Regions from separate parts of the Homo sapiens genome. Here regions 1, 3 and 4 are each linked to region 2. The links are contacts of gene promoters, found by promoter capture Hi-C in blood cells and fetal thymus (Javierre and others, 2016). All regions are on one chromosome and are shown on one strand. The core of a region is centred on a gene start or on the middle of the fragment in contact, and the rest is flanking DNA. Distances in the headings are between cores, read along the strand shown. Region 1 holds the start of CC2D1A (coiled-coil and C2 domain containing 1A). Region 2 holds the start of DDX39A (DExD-box helicase 39A). Region 3 has its middle 2.5 kb from the start of ZSWIM4. Region 4 overlaps ZSWIM4 (zinc finger SWIM-type containing 4).

Region 1 (2,700 bases), core at 147-2,646, 510 kb after region 2:
GGTTCAAGCGATTCTCCCACCTCAGCCTCCCGAGTAGCTGGGATTACAGGTGCCCGCCACCATGCCCAGCTAATTTTTGTATTTTTAGTAGAGATGGGGTTTCGCCATGGCCTCCCAAAGTGCTGGGATTACAGGTGTGAGACACCACCCCGGACTTCCATTTTTAATTTTTTATCTTTATTTTAGAGAAAGAGTCTTGTTCTGTCACCCAGGCTGGAGCAGAAGTAGCGCAATCATAGCTCACTGCGGTCTTGAACTCCTGGGCTCAAGCAATCCTCCCTTCTTAGCCTCCCAAGTAGTAGTACTACAGGCACATGCCACCATGCCCAGTTAGTCTTTTTTTGTCGAGACGGGGGTCTTGCTTTTGCCCAGGCTGGTCTCAAACTCTGGCCTCAAATGACTCTCCCACCTCTGCCTCCGCCTCCATCTCCTGAAGTGCTGGGATTATAGAGATCTCCATTTTACAGATGAGAAAGCTGAGGCTCAGAGCTGTAAAGTCAAGTGTCCGATGTACAGAGGCCAGGAGGGAACTTCAGGTCAGCCAGACTCTAATATCTGAACACCAAGCTATGTCCTGGGCTCCTTCCATCAAAACTGAGAAAAATCAAACTATCTGGTGCCTGGGGCAAAGAAGTCGGGAGAGTGAGAAGGGGTCCAGCCACAGTGCCATAAGCTTATGGCTGCAGCCCTGGATTTGTGCTTAGCCCTGGCCAAGCTGTTAATCCCTATGACCTTGGGCAGATGTCTTCACGTCTCTGAGTCTCAAAGTCCTCATCTGTACAATGGAATAAAAAGAGTCTGACATGGCCCGACTGATGCAAGGGTTTGATGTGTCAAGTCCGAGGACTGCCCCTCCTCGACTGGAGCAGCTGTGGCAACAGGTGGCCCCGAACCCGGGGCAGGGCCCCAGGAGCTGGGGAGCCAAGGCCAGTAGGCCACACTTGGGTGGTGTTGGAGCCTCACCTGGGGGGAGGCGGGGACCGGGGCTTACCTGTGGGGCGGAGATCGGGCTTCCCTGGGGGGTGGGGCCCTTCCCTGAGCGAGTGACGGGGGTGGGGAGGGATCCCCAGGTCGGGCCGTGGGGCGCAAACTCACCTGGCGGGCGGCCGCGGCGCCTCTGCCCGGGGGTCCCGGGGGTCCTTTCCTCTTGTGCATCTTCAAGGCTGGATGCCCGGACCACCTGCCCCCAAGCCCGGCCTTGCCCTGCCTCCTTCCCCGGGCTCTGTCGCCGCGCACTCGCCCTTCCTGAGTCCTGCACTCCTCGTCGGCGCCCCGCGGCCGTCGATCCCGAGCCCTCGCTTCCCTGCTTGGCCGTCCCACTTCCGCCTCGGGCCTCGGGCGCCGCCGCACCGGAGCGCGGCCACTGGGCTCGCCGGGTCTGCCGAGCCGAAACTACAACTCCCGGCAGGTAGTGCGTGGGCGCGCAGGCGCCTGGCTGGGGCGGTGCTGACTGTCGCGGGCTGCGAGGGCGGTGTTTGCGTCGCTCATGCGCGGGGCGGGACCTCGCGGGGCGCGGGAAAGAGGCAGAGCGCGCGCAGGTGTGAGGGGCGGCGACATCTGTGGGGTTCAGAGCGTCTGTCAGTCACCGACGGGCTCCGGCTTCACGTGGGCTCTCGGCCTGTGGAGTCCTCACTTCTCGGTGGTCGGCGTAGTGTCAGTGTGGGGCTTGTCACCGGGAGCGGGGTCTACAGCGCCCACCCTCAGGCCTTTCCATCTTTCACCTCCGGACTCGAGGCCTCCAGCGTTCTGTGAGGGCCAATTTGGCCATTTATTTTTTCCAAAAAGAGTAACGCGGATAATTCAAGCGACTTATTCCCAACTGATCCAGGCAGAGCTCGTTTCTGATAAGGACAGAGGGTCCTCAACGACTTCTGTGGCCCAGGTCCGTTCTGGTTTGCCTCGCCCCCAAGGCTGGGAGAAACCGGCCTATGGCAGCTCTTTCCCCTCCAAGGACCCAGCTGTCCCCTTTAAAGTGGCACGATCTTGGCTCATTGCAACCTCTGCCTCCTGGCCTTGTACCACAGCCTCCTGAGTAGCTGGGATTACGGGTGTGTGCCACCGCACCTGACTAATTTTTTTTTTTTTTTTTGAGACGGAGTCTCGCTCTGTCGCCCAGGCTGGAGTGCAGTAGAGCGATCTCGGCTCACTGCAACCTCTGCCTCATGGGTTCAAGGAATTCTACTGTCTCAGCCTCCCAAGTAGCTGGGATTACAGGTGTGCGTCACGATGCCCAGGCTAATTTTTGTGTTTTTAATAGAGAGGGGGTTTCACCATATTGGCCAGGCTGGTCTCCAGAGGCCCCTGGAGAGTCCTCAAGTGTCCTTGGAAGGGCCCCCAGATACCCCAGTCTGGAGGGAGGGGCTTCACACAGGCTGTTTCATCCTAGGGACCAGAGTCTGGGTCCCCGGGGCTATCTATAAGGACCCCCCAGGGCCCATTTGTCTTTCAGGTCCTGGGCATAAGATCTTCAGTTTGGAGGAGGTTTGAATTCCTACCTGGCCATGGCCCAAAGTGGCTGTGACTCTGTGTCCCATCCTGTGTCCCAGTGGGAGCCATCTGACCCCTGGGGCAGCCAAATGGGCTGAGGTGGAGGTAGGGGTAACCTCTGCTCTCAGCCAAAGCCACTGGATATAAACAGAGACAGAGACTGCTTATAATGATGAGAGATTTTGCTTGTTTTCAGATTTCTCAAGGGGAAGA
Region 2 (2,700 bases), core at 1-2,500:
CTTTACCAAATTTTTAAAAATTAGCTGGGCATGATAGGTAACAAGAGTGACACCCTGAAGAAAGAAAGAAGAAAGTGGAGGGAAAGAGGGAGGAAGGATGATAGGAAAATAAATCTGCCAGGATCTAATAAAGCTTAGTGACCATGCCACCATGCCACTCCTAAGTATTTAAAAGAAATGAAAATTTATCTTCCCCAAAATACTCTTACAGTACAAGCTCTATTAACAGTGGCCAAAGACCGGAAACAATCAATTGGCCAAGAACAGGTGAGTGAAACTATATTGGCTACATTATAGTATAGCCACACAATGAAATACCACTCAGCAGTAAAAAATAACGAGCTGTTGATATCCCCACAACATGGACAACTCTCAAAAACACTTTGCTGCGGCCAGGCAGGGTGGCTCATGTAATCCCAGCACTTTGGGAGGCGGAGATGGGCAGATCACATGAGGCCAGGAGTTCGAGACCAGCCTGGCCAACATGGCGAAACCCCTCTCTACTAAAAATATGAAAATTAGCCAGGTGTGGTGGCGGGCGCCAGCAGTCCCAGCTACTCAGGAGGCTGAGGCAGGAGAATCGCTTGAACCCGAGAGGCGGAGGTTGTGGTGAGCAGAGATCGCGCCACTGCACTCCAGCCTAGGTGACAGAGCCAGACTCCGTCTCAAAAAAACAGCTTTGTTGAGCAAAAGTCAGACACAAAAGACAACCTATTGCATGCTTCTACTAACGTGAAAATCAAGGAGACAAAACTATCGTGGAGCGATAGAAATCCAAATACTGCAAAATGTTCTGTCCATTTGAGTCATTCCAAGCTCCCTATTCTTTTCAGAGCCTACACTGTGGAGGACCCCCAGGCCGCAGATTGATAGCAACTGGGACAGTTCTGGTTTCAGCGCCCAGCGCAGACGCCACTCTTCGAAAAGGTGGGGCACACGCCAAAACGCAATCATCCGGTCTTCAGTTATCAGTACTAAACATGGCGGCTCCCACCGAGCACCACACCCAGATCACGAGACCGCGCGCTGTCGGAGCCAGTCTGTCGGCTCACTGGGGCGCGCCTACTTTTAGATTGACCAATAAACGCGAGGCGTAAGGCACGCCCTCTTTCTTCCCGTCTCCGCCAATAATCTCCCGGTCCCTTCCACAGGACCCAATCACCGCTTCGGCCTCTCTTGAATGAAAAGGCAGCGGCCCAGTCAGCAGAGCAGCAGCCCGACGCAAGAGGCAGGAAGCGCAGCAACTCGTGTCTGAGCGCCCGGCGGAAAACCGAAGTTGGAAGTGTCTCTTAGCAGCGCGCGGAGAAGAACGGGGAGCCAGGTGAGCAGCGGATCCCGGGCGCGGGGCCGCGGTGTGGGGACGTCTGAACTGAGAGCGAGAGGACGAGGGGAGACGTTGGGATCTAAGGGGAGGGGGAGAAAGGGTCGCGAGACGGTGGGGGCGGGGCGGTTGGTGTGTCAGAGCGCTGTGTGTTGGCCGTTGGGCACCGGGGCGCATGCGCTAGGGGTGGGCCAGCCGTTGGCGCGCGGTGCTCGGGGCTCGGGGCCCGCTTCTCGGAGGGGCTGTCATGGCCTACGGCGCTCCGAGCCCCACTTGGAGTCTGTCAGTTCGTCCGAATAGACCCCGCGGCGGCCTGGGGCCATTTGGAGAGGGACGAGGGGGTGACGCCGGGGTCTGGGGCCTGGGTGGGAGAAGTTGGAGCTTTCAGTTGTCAGGGGTTTCTTTGGGTCCGAGGGACTTGATCCCTTTCCCAGTCTACCTTCTTCTTGGTCTACTTTTTACGGGATTCGGGATTCTGAGATTTAGAGCAAATAAGACTTTATTTTGGAAGGCCGGGCGCGGTGGCTCTTGTAATCTCAGTACTTTGGGAGAGACCAAGGAGGGCGGATCACTTGAGGTCAGGAGTTCGAGACCAGCCTGGCCAACATGGTGAAACCTCGTCTCTACTCAAAATACAAAAAAAAATCAGCCGAGCGTGGTGGCGAGCGCCTGTGGTCCCAGCTACTCGGGAGGCTGAGGCACGAGAATCGCTTGAACCCGGGAGGTGGAGGTTACAGTGAGCCGAGATCGCGACACTGCACTCCAGCCTGGGTGACAGAGCGAGATTCTGCCTCAAAAAAAACAGAATGAAAAAAAGATTTTCTTTTGGAAATAGGAGTCCCCAGGTGGGAATAAACTCCGGGGTGGAAAGCCTGCCTGGGGACACTTGAGGGTAACTGGGTACACGTGGCGTGTCTGGGTTGTGAGTTCCCCGCTGTCACCTTTCAAGTTCATGCGCTCCTGGCGCCTTAGCGGTCATGGCCACCCACTTTGGGCGGGGAAAACCCCGCCGGATCCTTTCCTGATCTAATCAGTTTTGAGCTTTAGATCCTGTCCAGCCCGGTTTCTCGAAAATTTTATCTTAGCAGATTCGGTTCACCCCAATTTATTTATCTCTCTCTCTCTTTTTTTTTTTTTTTTTTTTTTTTTGAGACAGAGCCTTGCTCTGTCGCCCAGGCTGGAGTGCAGTGACACTATCTCGGCTCACTGCAGCCTCCGTCTTCCGGGTTCAAGCAAGCACATCCGGCTAATTTTTGTATTTGTAGTAGAGACGGGGTTTCACCATGTTGCCCAGGCTTGTCTCTAATTCCCGACTTCAAGTGATCCGCCCGCTTCGCCTCCCAAAGTGCTGGGATTACAGGCATGAGCCACCACGCTGG
Region 3 (2,700 bases), core at 11-2,510, 630 kb after region 2:
TGAAATTATAGGCGCCCACCACCACGCCCGGCTAATTTTTGTATTTTTGGTAGAGACGGAGTTTTGCCATGTTGGCCAGGCTGGTCTTGAACTCCTGACCTCAAGTGATCCACCTTTGGTAGTTGCTTAATTTCAATCTCTCCCTCTCCACTGTGAGCCTCAGGAGGCAGGAGTTTGTCCCATCTGTGCTTTACTGTACCGGCAGCACCTGGAAGGTAGGCGCTTAACCTAGAACTTGTTGAATGTACCAACCAACACATGCTTTGCCTCCATTCAGTTAAATGATAGGCACAGCAGAAAAAAAAAAAAAACAGTGATTATCCACTCATCCATATGGAAGCCCTAGCTTTTTCTTGGAGAAACTTCGAGTCTCACAGCTGCACCCTCTGGCCAGTCTTCACCCACTCTCCCTGCCACCCCCTCAATTAGTTAAACTCCCCTGCAGACCTGCACTGTCCAGTATGGTCACCAATGGCCACAAGTGGTCTCTGAGCCCTTGAAATGGGACTGGCTGAAATTAGGTTGTGCTGGAAAGGTAAAATACAGAGTGGATTTTGGAGACATAGCAGGAAGGGAACAAGGAAAAATATTTCTTTTTTTTTTTTTGAGATGGAGTGATCTCAGCTCACTGCAACCTCTGCCTCCCAGGTTCACGTGATTATTCTGCCTCAGCCTCCCAAGTAGCTGGGGCTACAGGCACCCACCGCCACGCCTGACTAACTTTTGCATTTTTAGTAGAGACGGGGTTTCACCATATTGGCAGGCTGGTCTCAAACTCCTGACCTTATGATCTGCCTGCCTTGGCCTCCCAAAGTGCTGGGATTCCAGGCGTGAGCCACCACGCCCGGCCTAAAATATTTCATTAAGAATGTTTTCCATCCTGGCTAACACAGTGAAACCCCTTCTCTACTAAAAATACAAAAAATTAGCCGGGCATGGTGGCAGGCGCCTATAGTCCCAGCTACTAGGGAGGCTAGGGCAGGAGAATGGTGGGAACCCAGGAGGCAGAGGTTGCAGTGAGCCAAGATTGCGCCACTGCACTCCAGCCTGGGGGACAGAGTGAGACTCCAAAAAAAAAAAAAAAAGAATGTTTTGGCCAGGCGCGGTGGTTCACGCCTGGAATCCCAGCACTTTGGGATGGTGAGGTGGGAAGATCACTTGAGCCCAGGAGTTTGAGACCAGCATGGGCAACATGGCGAAAACCCATCTCTATTAAAAAATAAGAAAATCAGCTGGGCGTGGTGGCACAAGCCAGTAGTCCCAGCTACTCTGGAGGCTGTGACAGGAGGATCTCTCGAGCCCAAGAGGTTCAGGCTACAGTGAGATATGATTGTATCACTGTGCTCCAGCCGGAGTGACAGTGTGACCGTCTCAGGAAAACAAACAAACAAACAAAAAAACAGAAAACGAGGCCGGGCAAGGTGTCTCACACCTGTAATCCCAGCACTTTCGAAGACTGAGACAGGCGGATCACCTGAGGTCTGGAGTTCAAGACCAGCCTGGCCAACATGGTGAAACCCCGTCTCTACTAAAAATACAAAAATTAGGGCCGGGCACAGTGGCTCACGCCTGTAATCCCAGCACTTCGGGAGGCCGAGGCGGGCGGATCATGAGGTCAGGAGATGCAGACCATCCTGGTTAACACGGTGAAACCCCGTCTTTATTAAAAATACAAAAAAATTAGCCTGGCGTGGGGGCGGGCACCTGTAGTCCCAGCTACTCCGGAGGCTGAGGCAGGAGAATGGCGTGAACCCGGGAGGTGGAGCTTGCAGTGAGCTGAGATCGCGCCACTGCACTCCAGCCTGGGCAATAGAGCAAGACTCCGCCTCAAAAAACAAAACAAAACAAAACAAAACAAAAATCAGCTGGGCGTGGTGGCGGGCGCCTGTAATCCCAGCTGCTTGCGAGGCTGAGGCAGGAGAATCACTTGAACCCAGGAGGCGGAGTTTGCAGTGAGCCAAGATTGCACCACGGCACTCCAGCCTGGGCAACAAAGTGAGACTCTGTCTCAAAAAAAAAAAAAAAAAGACAGAACAAAAGAAAGCAAATGTTTAGTGTTGTTAACATGTTGAAATTATATTTTAGATAAACTTGGTTTAATAAAATACATTATTAAAATTGATTTCATATATTTTCTTTTACATGGTTTCAGGACATTTAAATTACGTATGTAGGCTGGGTACAGTGGCTCAGGGCTGTAATCCCAGCACTTTGGAAGGCCGAGGCGGGCAGATCATCTGAGGTCAGGAGTTTAAGACCAGCTTAGGCGGGGCGCGGTGGCTCACTCCTGTAATCCCAGCACTTTGGGAGGCCGAGGAGGGCGGATCGCAAGGTCAGGAGTTTGAGACCAGCCTGGCCAACATAGTGAAACCCCGTCTCTACTAAAAATACAAAAAATTAGCTGGGCCTGGTGGCGGGTGCCTGTAATCCCAGCTACTTGGGAGGCTGAGGCAGGAGAATGGCGTGAACCCGGGAGGTGGAGGTTGAAGTAAGCTGAGATCACAGTGTTGCACTCCAGCCTGGGCGACAGAACGAGACTCCGTCTCAAAAAAAGAAAAAAAAAAAAAAAGACCAGCTTGGCCAACATGGTGAAACCTGTCTCTACTAAAAATACAAAAAATTAGCCAGGCATGGTGGTGCGTGCCTGTAATCCCAGCTACGTGGGAGGCTGAGGGAGGAGAATCGCTTGAACCTGGGAGG
Region 4 (2,700 bases), core at 133-2,632, 590 kb after region 2:
GCGACGGGCCCTGCCGCTCCGGGAAGCCTCTGTCCTCTCCTGCCCCGGCTCTGGCAGTGACCCAGACACAGCATCTCCATTCATCCAAAAGGCAGGAAGGCCCCGAGGAAACTGCTTCTCGGGGAGCCAGGGACGTTTAGACAACCACGGGCTTTCTCGCCGTCCTTTGGATCCCATCCCTCACTCTATTTGACGACTGGGAGCCTCTTCAGTGGCGCAAGATCCCAGACACGCCCTGGCCACGTCCCCTGGCGAGTGTCCACGCACAGACCACCCCCACTCCGTTTTTCTTCTCTTGGCCAGAGCCCCGCCCACCGAGGTCGAGTCTAAACCCGGGGTTCCCGCTTTTGATCGGGGTGTCTTCCCCATCCAGCTGCACCAACACCTGCCACAGCCTCCCATGCTCAGCAATTTGGAGACAAGGACCCCCAACATTGGTGTCTGGAGCCAGGGCGCCCCCCACCCCCATCTTGGCCCTTCCTAGGGGCTCAAGGACCCTGCAGTCAGGGGTGGGCAGGGGTCAGTGGCCCCAACCAGGTCCTAAATCAAACGTCCTAGCTAGGTGCCCTTCCCCCCTGCCCCCCACCCACGGAGTCTCGCTCTGTCGCCCAGGCTGGAGTGCAGTGGGGCGATCTCGGCTCACTGCAAGCTCCACCTCCAGGGTTCACGCCATTCTCCTGCCTCAGCCTCCCTAGTAGCTGGGACTACAGGCGCCCGTCACCACGCCTGGCTAATTTTTTGTTATATCTTTAGTAGAGACGGGGTTTTACCGTGTTAGTCAGGATGGTCTCAATCTCCTGACCTCGTGATCCGCCCGCCTCGGCCTCCCAAAGTGCTGGGATTACAGACGTGAGCCACCGCGCCCGGCCGCTGGGTGCCCTTTCTTTCCACTTTGCAACCTCAGTTTTCTCATCTGTAAAATGGAAAAGATAATCCTACCAACTCATAGGGCTGTGGTGACGATTAAATGACAGCGGTAACGCATTCAGCCCTGTGTTCCCTCATGGTGAGCTGTCCATCTCTGTTTTGAAATATTTACATAAGGCCGGGTGCGGTGGCTCACGCCTGTAATCCCAGCACTTTGGGAGGCTGAGGCGGGCAGACCACCTGAGGTCAGGTGTTCGAGACCAGCCTGGCCAACATGGTGAAACCCCGTCTCTACTAAAAAATACAAAAATTAGCCCGGTGTGGTGGCGCATGCCTGTAATCCCAGCTACTTGGGAGGCTGAGCCAGGAGAATCGCTTGAACCCGGGAGGTGGAGGTTGGAGTGAGCCCAGATCGCGCTACTGCACTCCAGCCTGGGCAACAGAGAAAGACCAAAAAAAAAAAAAGGGAAATATTTACATAATTACCATGGAATGAAGCCAGCAGTCGCTCCCATCCCACCCCTCGCTTGGCGCTGCACCCAGAAATAAGGCCAGACATTTTTTTTTTTTTTTTTTTTTTTTGCGGAGGAAACGAGGTTGAGGGTGTGAGTGGCTCTGGAGATGCACCCCAGTCTCAAAATAAAATTAAAAAGAAAAATTTCTGTTCAATCTTTGAAAAAAAAAAAGGAAAAGGACATGTAATACACCGTTCAATAAATAGAAAAAAAGTTACAAAATGATGTGGTATTTTGTCCTTAATATACAAGAAGGGAAAAGATGTGGGGGTGACTTGGGGGGGTGATGTTCTCCCTTCTCCTCCCTGGGTCAAGGTGGGGGAAAGGAAGGATGGCCAAAGAGAGAGGGCGGCAGGGACTTAGGTGCAGAGAGAAAGGCAGGTAAGTGCCGGGAAAAATGGAAACAGAGTAAGATGAAGGGGCGAAGCAGAAAGACAGGAGGCGAAAGGGTGAAAAAGCCAGAAAAACACCAAGATACAGGTCTCTTTCCTTTCCAGATCGGGGGTGGGGGTCTCCGGCTCTCTCGCGTCTGTGTCCCCCAACCCCAGGTTGGAAGGGGCAGTGTGAGCCTCGCTCAGTTCCTGAGTTGTACGTCCAGTGACTAGCAGGTGAGAAGAGAGGGCAGCGAGGACTTCCCCAACCCTGAGCCCACCCTGGGACCCTAGTGCCCAAGGAAATGGGGGTCCTGGCCGGATAGGATAAGGGGGTGAGGTATGAGGCTGAGGCCTGAGGCCTCTTCAATTCCTTCAGTGGGGGTGAGCCAATGGTCCTGGCTGGGCAGCCACTTTGGAGGTGGCATAATGGGGGGCCCTGAGCAGTAGGGGGTGGGGGAGGACCCTTGGCCACCCAGGGTGGGGTTGGGGGAAAATGTGCTACATTGACTTAGAGGGTCGATTTCTGGAAAGTCCTGCCTCCCAGCCTCCCTCCTGGAGCCCAAGCCAGTCTGGGTAAGGGGAGTTTGCCTATTGCTTTTGGGGTGCCCAAAGTGGGGTCATACCAGCAGCCCAAGCACACACCCCTTCCAGGCTTCTGGGTGGCAGTATGGCTTCTGCTTCTGGAGTCTTGCACACTTGCTCACAGACTCCCAGGCACACACGTGGCAGGATGCTGCTCCCCCTGCCCCCATCTCCAGCCGGGCTCCTTCCCTGACTTAATAATACTGAAATGCCACGTGGGCCTAATTGGAGAGCAAGGGTGGGGGACGCAGGGGCGAGGGGGATCCCCACTCCCACGCACCCCACTGTCCCTCAACCAAAACGCTCCCGCACCAAAAGCATGAGTTTCTTCTTGCCCTTGTAGGTCTGTTTGAGGTTCTCCA

Evidence for each region. Contacts are between HindIII fragments. The CHiCAGO score rates a contact against its expected background, and 5 or more counts as called.
Region 1: a contact is called between the fragment with the promoter of CC2D1A here and the fragment with the promoter of DDX39A in region 2, in 7 of 17 cell types (total CD8 T cells, naive CD4 T cells, naive CD8 T cells and 4 more). The highest score is 9.9, in total CD8 T cells.
Region 3: a contact is called between a fragment that was not itself captured here and the fragment with the promoter of DDX39A in region 2, in 1 of 17 cell types (non-activated CD4 T cells). The highest score is 7.4, in non-activated CD4 T cells.
Region 4: a fragment that was not itself captured here is called in contact with the fragment with the promoter of DDX39A in region 2 in 1 of 17 cell types (activated CD4 T cells); the score reaches 5.3 in activated CD4 T cells.

The regions. Positions count from the first base shown.
Region 1 is chr19:13,904,897-13,907,596 of GRCh38, reverse strand. CC2D1A (coiled-coil and C2 domain containing 1A) reads right to left here and starts at 1,396. Exons shown (of 29, transcript NM_017721.5): 1 at 1,096-1,396. The coding sequence starts at 1,155. BRME1 (break repair meiotic recombinase recruitment factor 1) reads left to right here and starts at 1,480. Exons shown (of 9, transcript NM_001345843.2): 1 at 1,480-1,882; 2 at 2,684-2,700. RefSeq lists a silencer at 1,022-1,081. The HindIII fragment of the contact is 3,878 bases long and covers 676-2,700 here.
Region 2 is chr19:14,417,891-14,420,590 of GRCh38, reverse strand. DDX39A (DExD-box helicase 39A) reads left to right here and starts at 1,250. Exons shown (of 11, transcript NM_005804.4): 1 at 1,250-1,321. RefSeq lists a silencer at 1,421-1,520 and enhancers at 1,641-1,780, 2,191-2,250, 2,621-2,670. The HindIII fragment of the contact is 5,494 bases long and covers 136-2,700 here.
Region 3 is chr19:13,791,627-13,794,326 of GRCh38, reverse strand. No RefSeq gene overlaps it. Among named protein-coding and RNA genes, the nearest start is that of ZSWIM4, 2.5 kb to the left of the region's middle. The HindIII fragment of the contact is 9,824 bases long and covers 1-2,700 here.
Region 4 is chr19:13,830,980-13,833,679 of GRCh38, reverse strand. ZSWIM4 (zinc finger SWIM-type containing 4) reads right to left here. Exons shown (of 14, transcript NM_001367834.3): 14 at 1,426-2,700. The coding sequence ends at 2,630. Among named protein-coding and RNA genes, the nearest start is that of MIR24-2, 4.0 kb to the left of the region's middle. RefSeq lists enhancers at 107-156, 207-256. The HindIII fragment of the contact is 4,589 bases long and covers 1-2,700 here.